Linked DNA regions of Homo sapiens: all the other regions are linked to region 1. Evidence: promoter capture Hi-C in 16 types of primary human blood cells and fetal thymus (Javierre and others, 2016). All regions are on one chromosome and are shown on one strand. Each heading gives the region's core, a stretch centred on a gene start or on the middle of the fragment in contact. The rest is flanking DNA. Distances are from core to core; before and after follow the strand shown.

Evidence for each region. Contacts are between HindIII fragments. The CHiCAGO score rates a contact against its expected background, and 5 or more counts as called.
Region 2: a fragment that was not itself captured here is called in contact with the fragment with the promoter of LMAN2 in region 1 in 1 of 17 cell types (fetal thymus); the score reaches 5.8 in fetal thymus.
Region 3: a contact is called between a fragment that was not itself captured here and the fragment with the promoter of LMAN2 in region 1, in 8 of 17 cell types (activated CD4 T cells, total CD8 T cells, total CD4 T cells and 5 more). The highest score is 7.7, in activated CD4 T cells.
Region 4: a contact is called between a fragment that was not itself captured here and the fragment with the promoter of LMAN2 in region 1, in 7 of 17 cell types (monocytes, activated CD4 T cells, total CD8 T cells and 4 more). The highest score is 8.7, in monocytes.

Annotation. Positions count from the first base shown.
Region 1 is chr5:177,350,366-177,354,358 of GRCh38, forward strand. LMAN2 (lectin, mannose binding 2) reads right to left here and starts at 1,303. Exons shown (of 8, transcript NM_006816.3): 1 at 1,087-1,303; 2 at 808-926. The coding sequence starts at 1,282. RefSeq lists enhancers at 1,244-1,433, 1,444-1,493 and a silencer at 1,388-1,602. The HindIII fragment of the contact is 10,936 bases long and covers 1-3,993 here.
Region 2 is chr5:177,107,620-177,111,993 of GRCh38, forward strand. No RefSeq gene overlaps it. Among named protein-coding and RNA genes, the nearest start is that of FGFR4, 23 kb to the left of the region's middle. RefSeq lists an enhancer at 2,615-3,114. The HindIII fragment of the contact is 6,039 bases long and covers 1-4,374 here.
Region 3 is chr5:177,482,509-177,486,482 of GRCh38, forward strand. PDLIM7 (PDZ and LIM domain 7) reads right to left here. Exons shown (of 13, transcript NM_005451.5): 11 at 1,562-1,682; 12 at 1,359-1,474; 13 at 886-1,222. The coding sequence ends at 1,136. Among named protein-coding and RNA genes, the nearest start is that of DBN1, 11 kb to the left of the region's middle. RefSeq lists enhancers at 1,508-2,223, 2,224-2,939. The HindIII fragment of the contact is 7,991 bases long and covers 1-3,974 here.
Region 4 is chr5:177,547,163-177,551,702 of GRCh38, forward strand. All of the region lies in intron 1 of FAM193B (family with sequence similarity 193 member B), which reads right to left. Among named protein-coding and RNA genes, the nearest start is that of FAM193B, 5.1 kb to the right of the region's middle. The HindIII fragment of the contact is 5,989 bases long and covers 1-4,540 here.

The DNA of each region.
Region 1 (3,993 bases), core at 53-2,552:
AATTATTCTTCTTTCCCCTTTTTCCTCACCTTGACTGCCTCAGTGTGGATTCTGTGTAGCAGCTGTCATTGGCCACTGCTCACATACTACATACTACATACTCTGAGGCAAAGGTCACAGACACTAGAACTGCCCACAGGTCCAGTCCCTCCACACTACTGATGACAAGACCCTCAACCAAGCATTGCAAAAAGGGTTCTAAGGGGTTCCTCCACTGTCCAGGTGAAAAGAGTCAAGTACATCGAGTGAACTGCTGGGCTTAGAGATCAGACAAATCAGAGTTTAAATACTGTTTATGACATTTGCTAGCTGGGTTATCTTTGTATAGTCATGAAAGCCATCTATTTCAAACAGCTTGTTTGAAAATTAAATGCAATAAGGCATGGCAAGGTCAGTGCCTAATACACAGCAAAACACCCAATAAAGATCCAGTTCGCTCGGTTCTTCCCATTACTGAGGGGGTTCAAGGCAGACAGCCTGACAGTTCCACTACTTTCTGGCTATGTAACTTTGGGTAAGGCCCTTTCAAACCTGAGTCTTAGCTTCTCAGTGGGTAAAATGGAGATAACATTACTCATCTCGCATGGCTTTTAAAGTGAGGAGGATGTAAAGTGTCAAGCGCAGCTCCTGACACATAGTAAGTACCCAATACCCATCGCCTCTTATTATTGGTGGGTGTGACCGAGATGAGGAAAAGGCCAGGGACGGAGGTGCAAACCTATAAACGAAGCTGGGGTCTCAGCTGCTCGGGAGGCAGGGACTAGCAGCCAACCGCACAGTACGCCTATCCTCTTGAGAACCACTCACCTGGTGGTTCCAGATAGAGCCCTCTTTGCTGCGCTCGTCAGGGGTCAGACGTACGTACTGGCTCGTGAGCATAGTGCTGCCCTGGAAGTCCCAGAGGGGCATAGAGCTGGAACCGACCCCTGTGGGAAGAGACAGGTGCTAAGAGGCCACGCCAGGACTGGCCTCACCAGAGGCAGGAAACCCACAGAGATGCTCTGCTCAGGAGAAAGGGCACGCCTTCCCCTAGCCCTGTTCAGCCTCGCCCTCACTCTTCACTCATTCCCGCCCCAAGGGCTTCACCTTGGTAGGGCTTAATGAGCGAATGCTCCCGCTTGAGATGTTCACTGTTGCCGTCAGTTATATCCGCAGTCACAGACCCCAACAACAAAAGAAGAAAGAGAGGTGTAGTGGGGCCAGGGCCGGGGCCGAGAAGCCCAGGCCTTCCCAGGCACCGCCGGCCCCAGCCCCAACGCCAAATCCAGCCTTCCGCCGCCATTCTCCTCTCCTCTCGGCCACTTCCGCCCTAGAACTTCCGCCTTCCGGGGGTCCCATCTATTGGCCTCCGGCCGGAAGCTCTTCAACTTTACTGTCGCCAGGGAGTCAAAAAGCAAAGCCTCCGCAGCAGACGGGGCGGCAGCTGCATTGGCCGGGCAGCCTCTCATCCTGGTTGAGTGCAGTTTCATCTCCTTAGAGGCTCCAAGGCACACGCCGGCCAGCCCCAGCAATGGGTTCTTTCGAGCGACAAGAGCTGTAACCAGTCACGGAACAGCACGTTAGGCTTGCGAGCCAATGAGGAGCAGAGGGATGGTTGGAGCCGGCGGGAGCGCGAGGGCCGTCCGCGACTCGGGGCATGCTGGAATTTGTAGTTTTTGTCGGTCGCTCTAATGGGGCGGATTCGCGAAGACTAGGACGTCTTGGGCTTCTGGCCGCAAGTCCCGTCTCTGGAATAACCTTTTCTAGTCCTGGAGAAAGGAGCTCTGAATTGAAGGCGGAGTCCTGCATTCCAACCCTTGTCCTCCCCGGGTGGCCCTGGGCAAGCCTTTAAGCCGTGCCTGCCGTCAGGCGCCCCAGCTTCGCGCCTTTGGAGACTCAGAATTCCCAATTATTTGAGGGCCTCCACTACCCTCAACTCCTCAGGCCTAGTCGGGTTGAAGCAAGAGGAACAGACACAGATCCTGGCCTGGGACCCCAGTGATGACTGGAACTCATCCCTATGCAAAAGAGCGCAGTGCCTGGTACAGCAAGTAACGTCCATGGAAGGCCCAGGAAAGCTGTGAATCAGAGGTCGAAAACTGGTGGCCTGCAGCTGAATAGAGCTCTGTTTTACCTGCCAATATTCTAATAAATGGCTTAACTACCAGTATTTTAAAGTCAGAATATAGAGGCTGGGCGTGGTGGCTCACGCCTGTAATCCCAGCACTTTGGGAGGCTGAGGCCGGCGGATCACGAGATCGGGAGATCGAGACCATCCTGGCTAGCACGGTGAAACCCCGTCTCTACTAAAAAATACAAAAAATTAGCCGGGCGTGGTGGCAGGTGTCTGTAGTCCCAGCTACTCGGGAGGCTGAGCCAGGAGAATGGCTTGAACCCAGGAGGCAGAGCTTGCAGTGAGCCGAAATCGCGTCACTGCACTCCAGCCTGGGCGACAGAGCGAGACTCTGTCACACACACACACACACACACACACACACACACACACACACACAAAGTCGGAATATGTACATTCACATCAGAAATCCAGACTTCCGGCTGAGCTCAGTGGCTGAGGCCTGTAATCCTAGCACTTTGGGAGGCAGAGGCGAGCAGATTACCTGAGCTCAGGAGTTTCAGACCAGCCTGGGCAACACGGTGAAACCCCGTCTCTACTAAAATACAAAAGAAATTAACGGCGTGGTGGCGGACACCTGTAGTCCCAGCTACTCGGGAGGCTGAGGCAGGAGAATTGCTTGAACCCAGGAGGCAGAGGTTGCAGTGAGCAGAGATCACGCCATTGCATTCCAGCCGGGGCGACAGAGCAAGACTCTGTCTCTACAAAAAAAAAAAAAAAGAAGAAGAAGAAGAAGAAAAGAAATCCAGACTTCCGTTTTTTTACCCAAAAAAAAAAAAAAAGAAGCAGCAGCAAAAGATCTAGGCACACATTCCCACAACAGAACAATAGGCTGGAGCTGAATGGGACTGCCCCTCCACCAATGCCTTCCTCTTCTAAGCTGGTCCCCACCTGGTCACTCGTTTACAGCACTTGCCTGGCTCCTCCAGACATTTGAATCAATGACTCCTGTTGTAGATCACAGGGAGGGATGTTGGTTGCTTGCTCCTTTTAGAAACTGCCCTCTTGAATGAATGGACTTATTCAGGATTGAGTGCTGAATCTTTTCTTGGTCATATATTTTTCGTTCGCTTTTTTATTATTAAAGTCACACATTCTGGTCAGGCACGGTGGCTCACACCTGTAATCCCAGTAGTTTGGGAGGCCGAGGTGGGTGGATCACTTGAGGCTAGGAGTTCGAGACCAGCCTGGCCAACATAGCGAAACCCTGTCTCTACAAAAAATTAGCTGGGTGTGGTGGTGCACACTTGTAATCCCAGCTACTCAGGAGGCTGAGGCACGAGCATCACTTGCACCTGGGAGGTGGAGGTTGCAGTGAGCCAAGATCTTGCCACTGCACTCCAGCCTGAGTGACAGAGTGAGACTCTGTCTCAAAAAAGTCACACATTCTTGTGGTGTGTATGGAAACAGAGAGAGAACAGACATACAAGACACAACAAGCCAGGCATGGTGGCTCACACCTGTAATCCCAGCACTTTGGGAGGCCAAGGCAGGTGGATCACTTGAGGTCAGGAGTTCGAGACTACCCTGGCCAACATTGTGAAACCCTGTTTCTACTAAAAATACAAAAAATTAGCCGGCCATGGTGGCGGGTACCTATAATCCCAGCTACTCAGGAGGCTGAGGCAGGAGAATCACTCGAACCCAGGAAGCGGAGGTTGCAGTGAGCCAAAATTGTGCCATTGCACTCCAGCCTGGGCAACAAGAGTGAAACTCCATCTCAAAAAAAGAAAAGAAAAGAAAAGAAAAGACACAACAAAAGTCTTCTGCCACTCCCCTCGCAAGGAGTGTCCCCTTCCAGAGATTTATCTGCACCCATACAAACAAAAACATGCACATTCCATGGGACCTTCATGGGGCTGGGATTTTTGTCAGCTATG
Region 2 (4,374 bases), core at 1,277-3,776, 240 kb before region 1:
GTGCTCCATAGACGTTCATGGAAAAAAGACATGTTGAATAAATTTCCCAAATTCAGAATTCAAATCCCAGGCTGCTGAGCTGATCTCAGAGAGGCTCCAAAAAACTCTCAGGACCTGAGACAATGCTCCCAAAATATCCATGTTGCCTCCTGAGGGGACTGCAACCATGAGCCCCAGAGTGTCTGTAGGGGGTCCGGCAACCCCTTCTCATCCTCTGACCCGGTGGCCCAGCCCTGATGTCAGGATGGAGTCGCAGGGACAGCTCGGGACTGTTACTGCCCTTGAGGGACCTCCAGGCTGGGGGTGTCTGCTTATAAACCAGGATTCCCCAATACTGTGTGGGGGACAACATGGGAGACAAGGGACCAATATCTAAGGAACTCCTGCAACTCCGAAAGAAGACGGGCACCTCGAAACACAAATAAGGACAGTGTGCAACCAGGTAATTGACTGAGGAGGAGACCCAGAGGCTAAGAAGCACTGGAGGAGATCTGGAGACTCGAGAATAATCTTAGGTGTGCTCTCACTTCCTACCTACCAGACTGGCAAGTGAGAAAGTCAGAGAATGGGCCGGGCGCGGTGGCTCACACCTGTAATCCCGGCACTTTGGGAGGCCGAGGCGGGCATATCGCGAGGTCAGGAGATCGAGACCATCCTGGCTGACAGTGAAACCCCATCTCTACTAAAAATACAAAAAATTAGCCGGGCGCGGTGGCGGGCGCCTGTAGTCCCAGCTACTCGGGAGGCTGAGGCAGGAGAATCGCTTGAACTCAGGAGGCAGAGGTTGCAGTGAGCTGAGATTGCACCATTGCACTCCAGCCTGGGCAACACGAGCAAAACTCGGTATTTAAAAAAAAAAAAAAAAAAAAAAAAAAAAAAAGGCCGGGCATGGTGGCTCACACCTGTAATCCCAGCACTTTGGGATGCCAAGGCAGGCAGATCACCTGAGGTCAGGATTTCGAGACCAGCCTGGGCAACATGGTGAAACCCCGTCTCCACTAAAAGTACAAAAATTAGCCAGGCATGGTGACTCAAGCCTGTAATCCCAGCATTTTGGGAGGCCAAGGAGGGCAGATCACGAGGTCAGGAGTTCAAGACCAGCCTGACCAGTAGGGTGAAACCCCGTCTCTACTAAAAATACAAAAATTAACCAGGCATGGTGGTGCACACCTGTAATCTCAGCTACTCAGGAGGCTGAGGCAGGAGAATGGCGTGAACCCAGGAGGCGGAGCTTGCAGTGAGCTGAGATCGTCCCACTGCACTCCAGCCTGGGTGACAGAGAGAGACTCCGTCTCAAAAAAAAAAAAAAAAAAAAGCTGGAGAACTCCAGGTGCTGGCAAGGAGACGAGAGGCTCTCCTGGACTGGGGGCTGAAGCTGTCCCAGCGAAGTCTAGGAGCATTCAGCTAAGTATATACACACATGCCCTATGACCTGGAAATGTTGCCCTGAACATATAACTGCCCCCAAACACACACACACACACACACACACACACACACACACACACACAACACACAGAGATCCTCCCATGTGACCGTGTGGGGAAGGCAGGAGGAGGGGTTGGATCCAGCCTGGGGTTCCTCACTGGAAGGCGGATCAGCAGAATGTGTGGAGGACCCGGTGGACACAGAGCCACATGGGGGACTTAGAAATCTCGTGCTGAGAGGCAAGAGGAAGAAATGGAATGAGATCTAAAGCACAAAGCCACTTGCACGAAATGATGACACGGAAAACACACATTTTCCAAGAACGCACACACAAAACTATTAGCACGACTGTCTGGGGGGCAGGGTGATAAGAATGGAGAATGAGGCCTGGCGTAGTGTCTCACGCCTGTAATCCCAGCACTTTGGGAGGCCGAGGCGGATGGATCTCGAGATCAGGAGATCAAAACCATTTTGGCCAACATGGTGAAACCCTGTCTCTACTAAAAATACAAAAATTAGCCGGGCGTGGTGGCACGCGCCTGTAATCCCAGCTACTCCGGAGGCTGAGGCAGGAGAATTGCTGGAACCCGGGAGGCAGAGGTTGCAGTGAGCTGAGATTGTGCCATTGCACTCCAGCCTGGGCAACAAGAGCAAAACTCTGTATTAGAAGAAAAAAAAAAAAGAACGAAGCACTGAGCACTGACCAGATAGAGGAAGGCGTGCAGGGGTGTGGAGTTGTGGAGTGTTGGGAATTGAAAGGCTCAGTAAATCAAGAAATGTTTACTGGGCACCTACCATAGGCCAGGTACTCTTCTAGTCACTGGGTATACCCAGTGAAGACAGACCTGGCCCCTGCCCTGAGGAGTTTCGTATCTACAAATGGAGACAGATATTCAACAAACACCCAGGAAAATGCTGACTGTAATGAAACGCAGAGCTCTGAAGGTCAACAGCCTGCAGCTGTGAGTGCTGACGGTGGGGACTGATCCTGGCCGGCTCCGGCTCCGGCTCCGGCTCCGGGAAGGGTTCCCTGAGGGAATGATGTTTGAGTTGAAGGAGGAGAGCCTTGGCCTTGTGAAGAGTGGGAGGAAATGCATTCCAGGCAGACAGAATGGTCTCTGCAAAGGTCTGGAGGCAGGCAGGTGCAGGGCGAAGGTGAGGGCATCCGATCCAGCTCCGTGGACAGAGCACAAGAGTGAGGGGGAACACGGTGCCAGATGAGGCCAAACCCAGGGGGCCTCGTAGGCTGTGGGTTTATCCTAAGGCAAGTGACAAGACAGGAAAGCAAGGGGCTGGTGCAGATGGGCAGGCAGTGGAGGGGATTGTTGCAGCGCCTGGCTAGACTCAGAGCCGGGAACCGGAACAGCCCCCCAAAGTACATGTGTGGCCTCCCAAGAAGACAGAAGTAAGAGCCCCAGAGCATCCACAGAGTGACCATCCACGCTGTCTCCCACTCTCTGGTCTGGGGCCAGCAGCGCCTCTGCACAGCTACATTCTGAGGCTCCCAGCTTGGCCAAGGGGATAGAGAAAAGTGGAAGGCCAGATGCAGAATAAGAGGATTTGCTAGGCCAGGCATGGCATTTCACGCCTGAAATCCCAGCATTTTGGGAGGCTGAGGCGGGAGAATGACTTGAGGCCAGGAGTTCAGGACCAGTCTGGGCAACACAGTGAGACCCTGTCTCTACAAAAAAAATAAAACAATTAGCCGAGTGCGAGAACACGTGCCTGTAGTCCCAGCTACTTGGGAGGCTGAGGTGGTAGGATCACTCTTACAGAGAGAACAGTCTCTGCTTGGAATAGTCCAAGCTCCTTAACACGCAGAGGAGGCCTTCAGGATCTGGCCCAGTAGGTTGCAGTGAGCTACGATATTGAGTCTCTGCACTCCAGCCTGGAACACAGAGCAAGCTCCTGTCTGAAATAAATAAATAAATAAATAAATAAATAAATAAATAAATAAAAGGGAGGCCGGGCACAGTGGTTCATGCCTGTAATCCCAGCACTTTGGGAGGCTGAGGCGGGCAGATCACCTGAGGTCAGGAGTTTGAGATGAGCCTGGCCAACACAGTGAAACCCTGTCTCTACTAAAAATACAAAAATTAGCTGGGTGTGGGTGGGCTACTAGGTAGCCCAGCTACTCGGGAGGCTGAGGCAGGAGAATCGCTTGAGCCCAGGAGGTGGAGGTTGCAGTGAGCCGAGATCATGCCACTGCACTCCAGCCTGGATGACAGAGCAAGACTCCCTCTCAAAAACAAAATAAAAATAAAAATAAAAGGGGGCTGGGCGCAGTGGCTCACACCTGTAATCCCAGCACTTTGGGAGACTGAGGCGGGGGATCACAAGGTCAGGAGCTCAAGACCAGCCTGGCCAAGATGGTGAAACCCCGTCTCTACTAAAAATACAAAAAATTAGCTGGGCGTGGTGGCGGGCGCCTGTAGTCCCAGCTACTTGGGAGACTGAGGCAGAGAATTGCTTGAACCTGGGAGGCGGAGGTTGCAGTGAGCCAAGATCGCACCACTGCACTCCAGCCTGGGTGACAGAGCGAGACTCTGTCTCAAAAAAAACCCAGAAAATAAATAAATAAATAATAATAAAAGGGGACTGGCTGATGGGGGGTGGGAGGGTGAAGGAGGTGATGGAGAACCTGGAGATGGGAAAGGACAGAAAGTTGAGTGAACAGGTGGCATCAGTGTGTTTCAGGGGCCTGAGGAGGGACCACAAGGGGGTGGACAGGGCAGATGATGATGAAAATGTCGCCAGACCAACACACTGTGCCTGACCGTGAAACAAACAACAGGAAGCCAGCAGCATCCCAATTTCACTATCCTTGTGCCTTTCACCCCAACTCTTCCCAGCCCCTTCCACGTCCATCCCTTGGCCTCGTCCTCTCCTTTCCTCCTCCATCTCTTTTTTTCTCTCTGGTCTGTCTGCCCTGTGAGGGGTCTCCAG
Region 3 (3,974 bases), core at 665-3,164, 130 kb after region 1:
CTCCCTTGCCTGGCCCCCGCCCCTAGGCCCTGCTGCAACTCCTCCTCCCAGCCTCCCTCCTGCACTCCCTCAGTGTTCTGGGGCCTCTTTTCTGCAATACAACACAAACCTATTTCAAACTCTGCTGTGCCTTGCCCTGCCCTAACCTCAAGAGACAGCCCCAGCTCTACTGCCTGGCACTCGTGGCTTCCCAGGACCTAAGGGCTACCCTCTCCAGCCCTGCCTTCTTCTGTTTGGACGGCAGCTGGCCCCTCCAGGACTTTGCTGTGGCCATTGCTGTTTTCCACACCGTATCTCTGCAGATCCACCCCCAACTACAACTACCCTTCTTTTTTTTTTTTTTTTTTTTTTTTTGAAGCAGGGTCTCGCTCTGCCATCTGCCACCCAGGCTCGCGCGCAGTGGTGTGATCTCAGCTCACTGCAACCTCCACTTCCCAGGTTCAAGTGATTTTCCCGCCTCAGCCTCCTGAGTGGCTGGGATTACAGGCATGCCCCACCACACTCGGCTAATTTTTGTATTTTTACTAGAGACGCTGTTTCACCGTGTTGGCCATGAGGTCTCGAACTCCTGACCTCAAGCGATCTGCCCACCTTGGCCTTCCAAAGTGCTGGGATCACAGGCATGAGCCACCATGCTAACTACCCTTCCTAACTACCCTTCTCTAACCTCCAAGCCAGGCCAGACCAGTGGCTCCCCTCATGTCTGTGGGCACCGGGCCTGGCACATGGGGTCTCGCCTGTACCTCCTCCACTAACCATGAGCCCGCCATGTCTGCATCACGAGGACCACCCAGATGGCCAGCCCAAGAAAACCATCTTACTCTCCACCCTGCCACGTGCCTCAAATTCTGCCCCTCCGGATGCACAGGGGAAGGGCACACAAGACACAGCTGGGTACAGGTTTATTGTGGCACTGGAGGTGAAAGGGGGCTGGTGTGGCCAGCACCGGTGTGCTGTGGTGGTGGAGGGAGTGGGGTGGGAGGATAAGGTGGGTGGGGCAGGGCCCAGGGAGCCCCAGGCTCGGGCCAGGAGCCAGGGTTAAGGCAACCATTGCCAGCCCTACCCAGAAATGCAGGGCCACGACTCCAGGCCCCTCAGGCTAGGGGCCACCGCGGCAGCTGTGGGCAGAAGGGGCTCACACATGAGAGAAGGCATGGCTCTTGCAGAGAGGCCTGTCCTTCTTGGAGTAGAAGGTCTTTCCTTCCAGGTTGATCTGACATATCTAAGGACAGCAAAGGCCCAGTCACATGGGGTTGGGGGCAGCAGGAGAGGCCCCTTCCCAACTTCTCCTGCATCTCCTGGGGAATGAACAGAGGGCCGGTGGGCTTGGGGCTCAGTTCGAGGGGCGGGGCTCTCACCGCACAGACGAAGCAGGTGTCATGCCAGCTGAAGCCCAGGGCCTCCAGGAAGCGGTCCCCAGCGTCGATCTTGAAGTCACAGCCATGGCATTTCGTGCCAAACATCTTCTCATAGTCTGAGAATGGGGGCAGAGAGAAAGAGGACCTGGATTCATGCCTGCCCCATGCACCATCCCTCCTCACCCTCACTGGCCAGTGGGTACCTCGCTCGCAATAGGGCACGCCCTCCTCCATGTAGAAGGCCCTGTTCCGGATGGGCGTCTTGCAGGCAGCACAGGTAAAGCAGTGCACGTGCCAGGTCATCTTCAGGGCGTGCATGATCTCCTGGAAGGAGGTCCCAGTCACTCGGCAGGCTCAGGCCCCTCCTGCCCTGCCCTGGGTCACGGGAACACAGGAGGGCTGGCCGCAAGCCCTGTTCCTTCTCGCGGTAAACACTACATCTAACTGTTCAGGACTCCCACACCTCCATCTCCAACTCCAAGGTCTCTGAGTGGACGACCACTGCGCCTTCAGACTTGCCATGTCCAGCACTCAGTTCCTGATTCCCTCACCCCAAACCTCTCCTCCCACAGCCATCCCCATCACGCGGATGGCAACTCCATTCTCCTGTCTGCTGCAGCCAAACACACCCTCCTCTCACACCCCACACCAGGTCCACCAGGAAATCCAGTGGGGCCCACCCCCAAGGCACATCCAGATTCTGAGTGCTTCTCACAGCCTCCCTGAAGTGAGGTAAGCCATGGCCATCTGGCCCGTGGGACCACATAACAACTGGCCTACAAGCTCCTCTCTCTGATCCCAGCTGCCACAGCGTGCCCCTGCAACCCAAGACAGGCCTTCTCCCCCTGCATGAAACTGTGTACTGCTTCCCATTGCTCCCAGCAAGAGCCAAGCCCCATGCAGAGGCTGGAGGCCAGCAGGTCTGACCTCGTTCCCAACCGTCTCCGCCACTGCTCTCCCTTGCGTTCTCACCTTGCCTCTGCACACTGGCCTCTTGCCTGAAACTGGCACACCAGGCACACTCCTGTCCTGGGCTTGACACCGGCTGTCCCCTCTGCCTGGACTGCTCTGCCCCAGATATCTCTAGGCTCACCCCTCACCCCCTTCAAGTTTCTGCTCGAATGCAGTCTTCTCCATGAGGGCCCACTCTGACCACACCAGCAGCAGCCAGCTGCCTTCCCTGCACCACGCACCCCAGCACTTGTCGCTCTGCTCTTTCCTGTTTTCCGTAACGTGATCTAACATTACTTCCAGGCAACCTACTTATTGCGCTTATTGCTTACAGTCTGCCTCTCCCCTCTTCTTCCAGCCAAAATGTAAGGCCCAGAAGGGCAGGAAGCATCAACTGTTTTGTTAGCTGATCTATCCCCACAGTGCCTGGCCCTTTGTGGGTGAGTCGACTGGCCTCCGCAGGAGGTGGGAAGGGGCAGAGGCACAAGGGGCTGAGCTCTCCCTGGGCTGGGCTGTTCATCCCTAGGACCCTCGGGGCCAGCCGGGGCCAGCCAGGGCCAGCAGTATTCACATCTGGAGCAGGCAGAGGGCAGCATGGGGCCTCGAGGCGGTATGAGGGTCCAAGATGTGTGGGTCTGGCCAGACCTTGACCTTCTCAAGTCTTGGTTTCTTCCCTTGTGAACTGGGAAGCTAATCCCAGCCTTGTGAGGCTGTTATGAGGATGGCCCTGAGTTTAAATCCAGGGATCCCAGATCCAATCCCTGCAAGGGCCAAGTGGGGACTGTGTCACACGGAGGAGGACCTCTTCTTCTGGGAGCAGTACTACTGGTTCATTCAGGAATGCCTGCCTGGCTCAGGCTGAAATCTAGGTGTTAAAGAGAAATCTGCTGGGCGCAGTGGCTCACGTCTGTAATCCCAGTGCTTTGGGAGGCCAAGGTGGGAGGATCGCTCGAGGCCAGGAGTTCGAGACCAGCCTGGGCAACATAGCAAAACCTCATCTCTACAAAAAGATTTAAAAATCTGCTGAGCATGCTGGTGGGCACCTCTAGTCCTAGCTATTTGGGAGGCTGAGGTGGGAGGATCCTCTGAGCCCAGGAGATCAAGGCTGCAGTGAGCAGTGATCATGCCACTGCACTCCAGCCTGGGCAACAGAGCAAGACCCTATCATTATACATAAAGAAATAAAAAGCAGGAGATCTCACTTTCCCTCTGCCTCCCAAGTAGCTGGGACCACAGGTGCATGCCACCACACTTGGCTAATTTTCTAATTTTTTTTTTTTTGTAGAAACAGGGGTCTTGCTATGGTGCCCATGCTGGTCTTGAACTCCTGGGCTCAAGCAATCCTCCCACCTTGGCCTCCCAAAGTGCTGGGATTACAGGCATGAGCCACTGCATCATGCAGGCAAATCTTCTGATTTTTTAAATTGTTTGCTACTGATTTTAAAATGAAACAGTGTGGGCCAAGCAAGACATAAGTGTGGGGGACATGTAGCCTTCGGATGGTGCATTTCTGCCCTCCACAACACCTGTACCCCATCTTACATCTACCTTGCAACCGTGCCGGCCCTAGCATAGTGCCACCCTTCTCTTCAGTGAGGCCCAGAGAGAGCAACTAGCCCCTGCTCACACAGCCAGTAGATCACAGAAATAGGTTTTCTGCCCATG
Region 4 (4,540 bases), core at 1,032-3,531, 200 kb after region 1:
AGTACCTGGCCTGGGCCTGGCACAAAGTAGGTGCTCAATACCCGTTAGTTTCTTTCCTCTTCTGCCCTGGAAGAAATGACAGGGAAACTTACTAAGTGAGACTTGCCCAAACCAAATTTATTTCTTTTTTTTTTTTTTTTGAGACGGAGTTTCGCTCTGTCGCCCAGGCTGGAGTGCAGTGGCGCGATCTCGACTCACTGCAAGCTCCGCCTCCCGGGTTCACGCCATTCTCCTGCCTCAGCCTCCTGTGTAGCTGGGACTACAGGCACGCGCCACCATGCCCGGCTAATTTTTGTATTTTTTAGTAGAGACGGGGTTTCACCGTGTTAGCCAGGATGGTCTCGATCTCCTGACCTCGTGATCCTCCCGTCTCGGCCTCCCAAAGTGCTGGGATTACAGGCGTGAGCCACCGCGCCCGGCCCCAAATTTATTTCTTGAAGCAAAGGACAGAAGGACTAGACAAGTGACTTCAAGGCCTCTTTGAACCCCCAGCTCCTTGTTTTCTGGCTATAACTTCCTAATAAAACCTTCAGTGTTTGCAGTTCCACCAGCCCCTTCTTTCTGCTTTAGTTTCCCTACATCATTTTTCACAGTAGATAGATCTACTCGTAGCTACCACTTGTGCTAAGCATCCTAAGCATGGAGGGGGAAATAATAAAGGGAGCTAAGGGCCTTTGGTGGAGAATGAAGGGGAGATGGACTGCAGCATGTTGGCCCACAGGCTGCACAACCATGCAGCTGCTGTGCTGGGAGCCACCCAGAGTCTGAAGGATGAAGGCAGGCTCACAGGCACAGAACCGAAGGCACACACACAGGGCCCTTCCCAAGACATAGCATGCCTCTCCTCAGTCCTTCTCTGCTTCTGCACATCCTGCCAAGAAGGACCAAATACATAAAGTAGTCACACCTTCCCATATGCTGTTCCTTCTGCCTTTTTCTTCTCTTTTTTTTAGGCTCGATCTGGGTGTTACATCCTCTTAAGTCCACAGGAAGAATGAACTTGGCTTTGCTCTAGGATATCCTAACACTCTTTTGTTTAAAAACGTATCTCTAGAATAGAGCTTATCATATATATTCTAGTGGTTGAAATCTGTCCTTTCCACAATACTGTGAGCTTTTCAAGGGCAGAGCCTGTGTCCCACAAGTCACTGTATTGCAGTCATTCAGCAGAAGCTGTAGCACAGAGTAGGCACAGGTAAGTGTTTGGATACACAATGGAAGATTATACACAATGGAAGTTGGCAAATATCATTAATAGATCAGAACTGGGGGAAGGTTTTTTGTTCTGTTTTAAACTAAGGTTGTTTCTGTTCTTGTTTATGGAAAAGCTCCTCCCTGGGAAACCCACTGTTTGAAGAATACCCTAGGTCTCCTCAAAGATCCCCCTGGCACCCTCAATTCAGCAGCTCCCAGACCCAGTCACATGTCAGAGTCACTTGGGAACAATTCAACAATAGATACCTGGGATCCAGACCTGGAGACTGACTCTGTAAGTCTGGGATAGGGTCCAGCAAAGCACAGGGGATCTGATGATTATTAGCTTGGGGCAAGGGAGAGGTGGAATCAAGCAATCACAGCTGTCTCTCCCACTGAGAATTACTTCCTCACATGCTATCAGAGAATGTATTGAAGCACATCACGTTCTCTTTCCTGCTTAAAACCTTTCATTGATTCTTCACCACCTACAGGATAAAGCCTAAACCTCTTGGTGTGGTTTTCAAGAACCCTGCTAGCCCCTTCAGCCGGATCTCTCCCGACTCTCCAAATGAGTGGTGCTCGCCCTGGGTCTTTGTACAAGTTCCTTCCTTTGTTTAGACTCCTTTCTACCACCTTGTCCTCTGGAGAACTTCTACACAACCTTGAAGACTCAGCTCTGAGAAGCATTCTCTGACCCATCTTCCTCTAGGTTATGTCTTGGGCAACCCTGACACCAAATATCTACAATACTCAGAGCTACCACTTGTGTTAAGCATACCGCACTTGTTGGACCCTAACATTAACCATGTAAGACTGGATTGTCTTTTCTTTTTTTTTTTTTTTTTTTTTTGAGAAAGGAGTCTCGCTCTGTCGCCCAGGCTGGAGTGCAGTGGCGCGATCTTGGCTCACTGCAAGCTCCACCTCCCAGGTTCACGCCATTCTCCTGCCTCAGCCTCCAAAGTAGCTGGGACTATAGGTGCCCGCCACCATGCCCGGCTAATTTTTTTGTATTTTTAGTAGAGACAGGGTTTCACCGTGTTAGCCAGGATGGTCTCGATCTCCTGACCTCGTGATCCTCCCGCCTCGGCCTCCCAAAGTGCTGGGATTACAGGCATGAGCCACCGCGCCCAGCCTGGATTGTCATTTTATACATGAGAAAACAAACCAAGAGGCTGAAACACTTGCAAAGGCCACTTAATAGGGTCCAGGATTTGAACCTTTATTCAGAGGAAGCCGATGCTATATCTCCTTCTAGCATTACTGCAATTACTATACACACGTTCTCTAGACTATGAGCCCCTTGTGGGAAGGGACTATGTCTGATTCACTTCTGCATGCGCAGCTAGCCCAGGCCTGGCACAGAGCTGGGATCGGTTAGTGTCTGCACAATAAATGCCATGTGAAATAAAACTGGGCATCACAGCATGCGAATGGCTGGCCTAAATGAATAACTGCCAGCCTGGCCCAGTTGTGGGGGCAGACAAGAACAAAGTGGTAGAATCCTTACTTATTATAATTTTTAACAGCCATGTATTGAGTATATAAGGTCCACACACAATATATTTCCCCCCAAATAAATTAAAACATAGACCCTGCTCTAAAAAATTCTAGATGAGGTAAGTAAAGGTGTTAGGATCATCCATCTGATATCAAAAATTAAAAATTTAAAACTCAGCTGGGTGTAGTGGCATGCACATGTAGTCCCAGCTATTTGGGAGGCTTAAGGAGAAGTATCACTTGAGTCCAGGAGTTTGAGGATAGCCTGGGCAACATAGCAAGATCCTATCTCTAAATTAAAAAAAAAAATTAAAATCCTAAGTGGGTAAGTCTTCATTTTCAAAGGTCTTTTGACATTTTTATATAGTGAGTCTCTACTGGCTTACAAAGAAGAACCAGAGGTGGCAAGGATCCCCTCAGTATCATTTCCTCCTACTGACAATGGAAGTAGTGCAGGCTGGGTAGGCACTGATTCTAAGGGGGAGGTCCCCAAAGATAGGAACTATCTTATCCATCTGTGCACCCCAAATAAAGGTCCTGGCACAGAGGTGGTTTTGGTATCTGCTGAGTGAATTAAACATAATGAGATGCTTTTATTAAAGATACTGACTAATCATCTGCTCCAATTTCTTGAGGGAACAGTGGAAGAATCGGATCTCTAGAGTCCCTTTAAACTAGACTGGGCAAAGTCCCAGAGGACAATGTGGAGGGAACAAGAGGTGGGGAAGGGTAGGATGAGTTCACCTCTCCTCACCAACTGCTGGCTTACATCCTAGCAAGTCTCCTGGGGGCTTATTGAGTGTACACTGGATTACAAACTCAGTGGTCCAAGAGAGATGAAAGACAGCTAGCAGAGCTAACAGGCCAGAACACTCAGGCTTTGTATGGCCACCTGGCACAGCTCCTGCCCCCTCTCTTAGGTGAGGCGCTTCTATGTACTAGCTGCTGCATAGGTTGCTTCTCTTGTGAAGTATTATTATTATTTTAAAAGGAGACGGTGTTTCCCTCTCTCCCCCAGGCTGGGGTGCAGTGGCGTGCACATGAAGTCCTGGGTAACTTAATTCCTGGGTTCAAGCAATCCTCCCGCCTCAGCATCCCAACTAGCTGAGACTATAGGTGTGAACCCATGCCCAGCTAAGTTTTGATTTTTTTTTTTTTATAGAACCAGAGATCTCACTATGTCACCAATGCTGGTCTCAAACTTCTGGCCTCAAGAGATCCTCCTGCCTCAGCCTCCCAAAGTGCCGGGATTACAGGCGTGAGCCACCAAGGCCTCTTGTGAAGTTCCTGATGGGGTCAGAGAGAAGCAACTTGCGGAGTCACAAAGCTAGGAGGCTAAGCTGGGAATTCAATCCAAGTCTCTAAACACTATTCCCCACTGCCTCCTACAATTGCTTTTTCAGTTGTTCTTTATTTTTTTTTTTGTTTGTTTTGTTTTCCTTTGCTAATAAGGTAGTAACTGTTTCAGCCTTCTTGTGCTATAAACGAGGATTTGGGTTGTTAGGAAACAGATCAATGTGGTTTAGTGGCCTGAAACAATTGAAAGCCATTTGGGATCCCAATTAAACTCAAGGTCCTGCTTTAAATGTGTACAGGTTATGCCAATGAGTGAAGGGGCCTGGAAAGAACCAAAGATGCCTAAGGAGCATACGCTGTCTAAAAGGGCCAAATGCTACTCAGAGACTACTGATTACTGCCTTGTGGAAAAGTGGACCCAGCATCACCATATCTTTAGTTTAAAAAAGAGCCCCAAATCCAAATGTGTGGGAAACCTTTTGATCTTTAAAATATTGGCTCAAATGAAAATAAAAACAGAAACAAAACAATATGTGAGCTGGGGCATTAC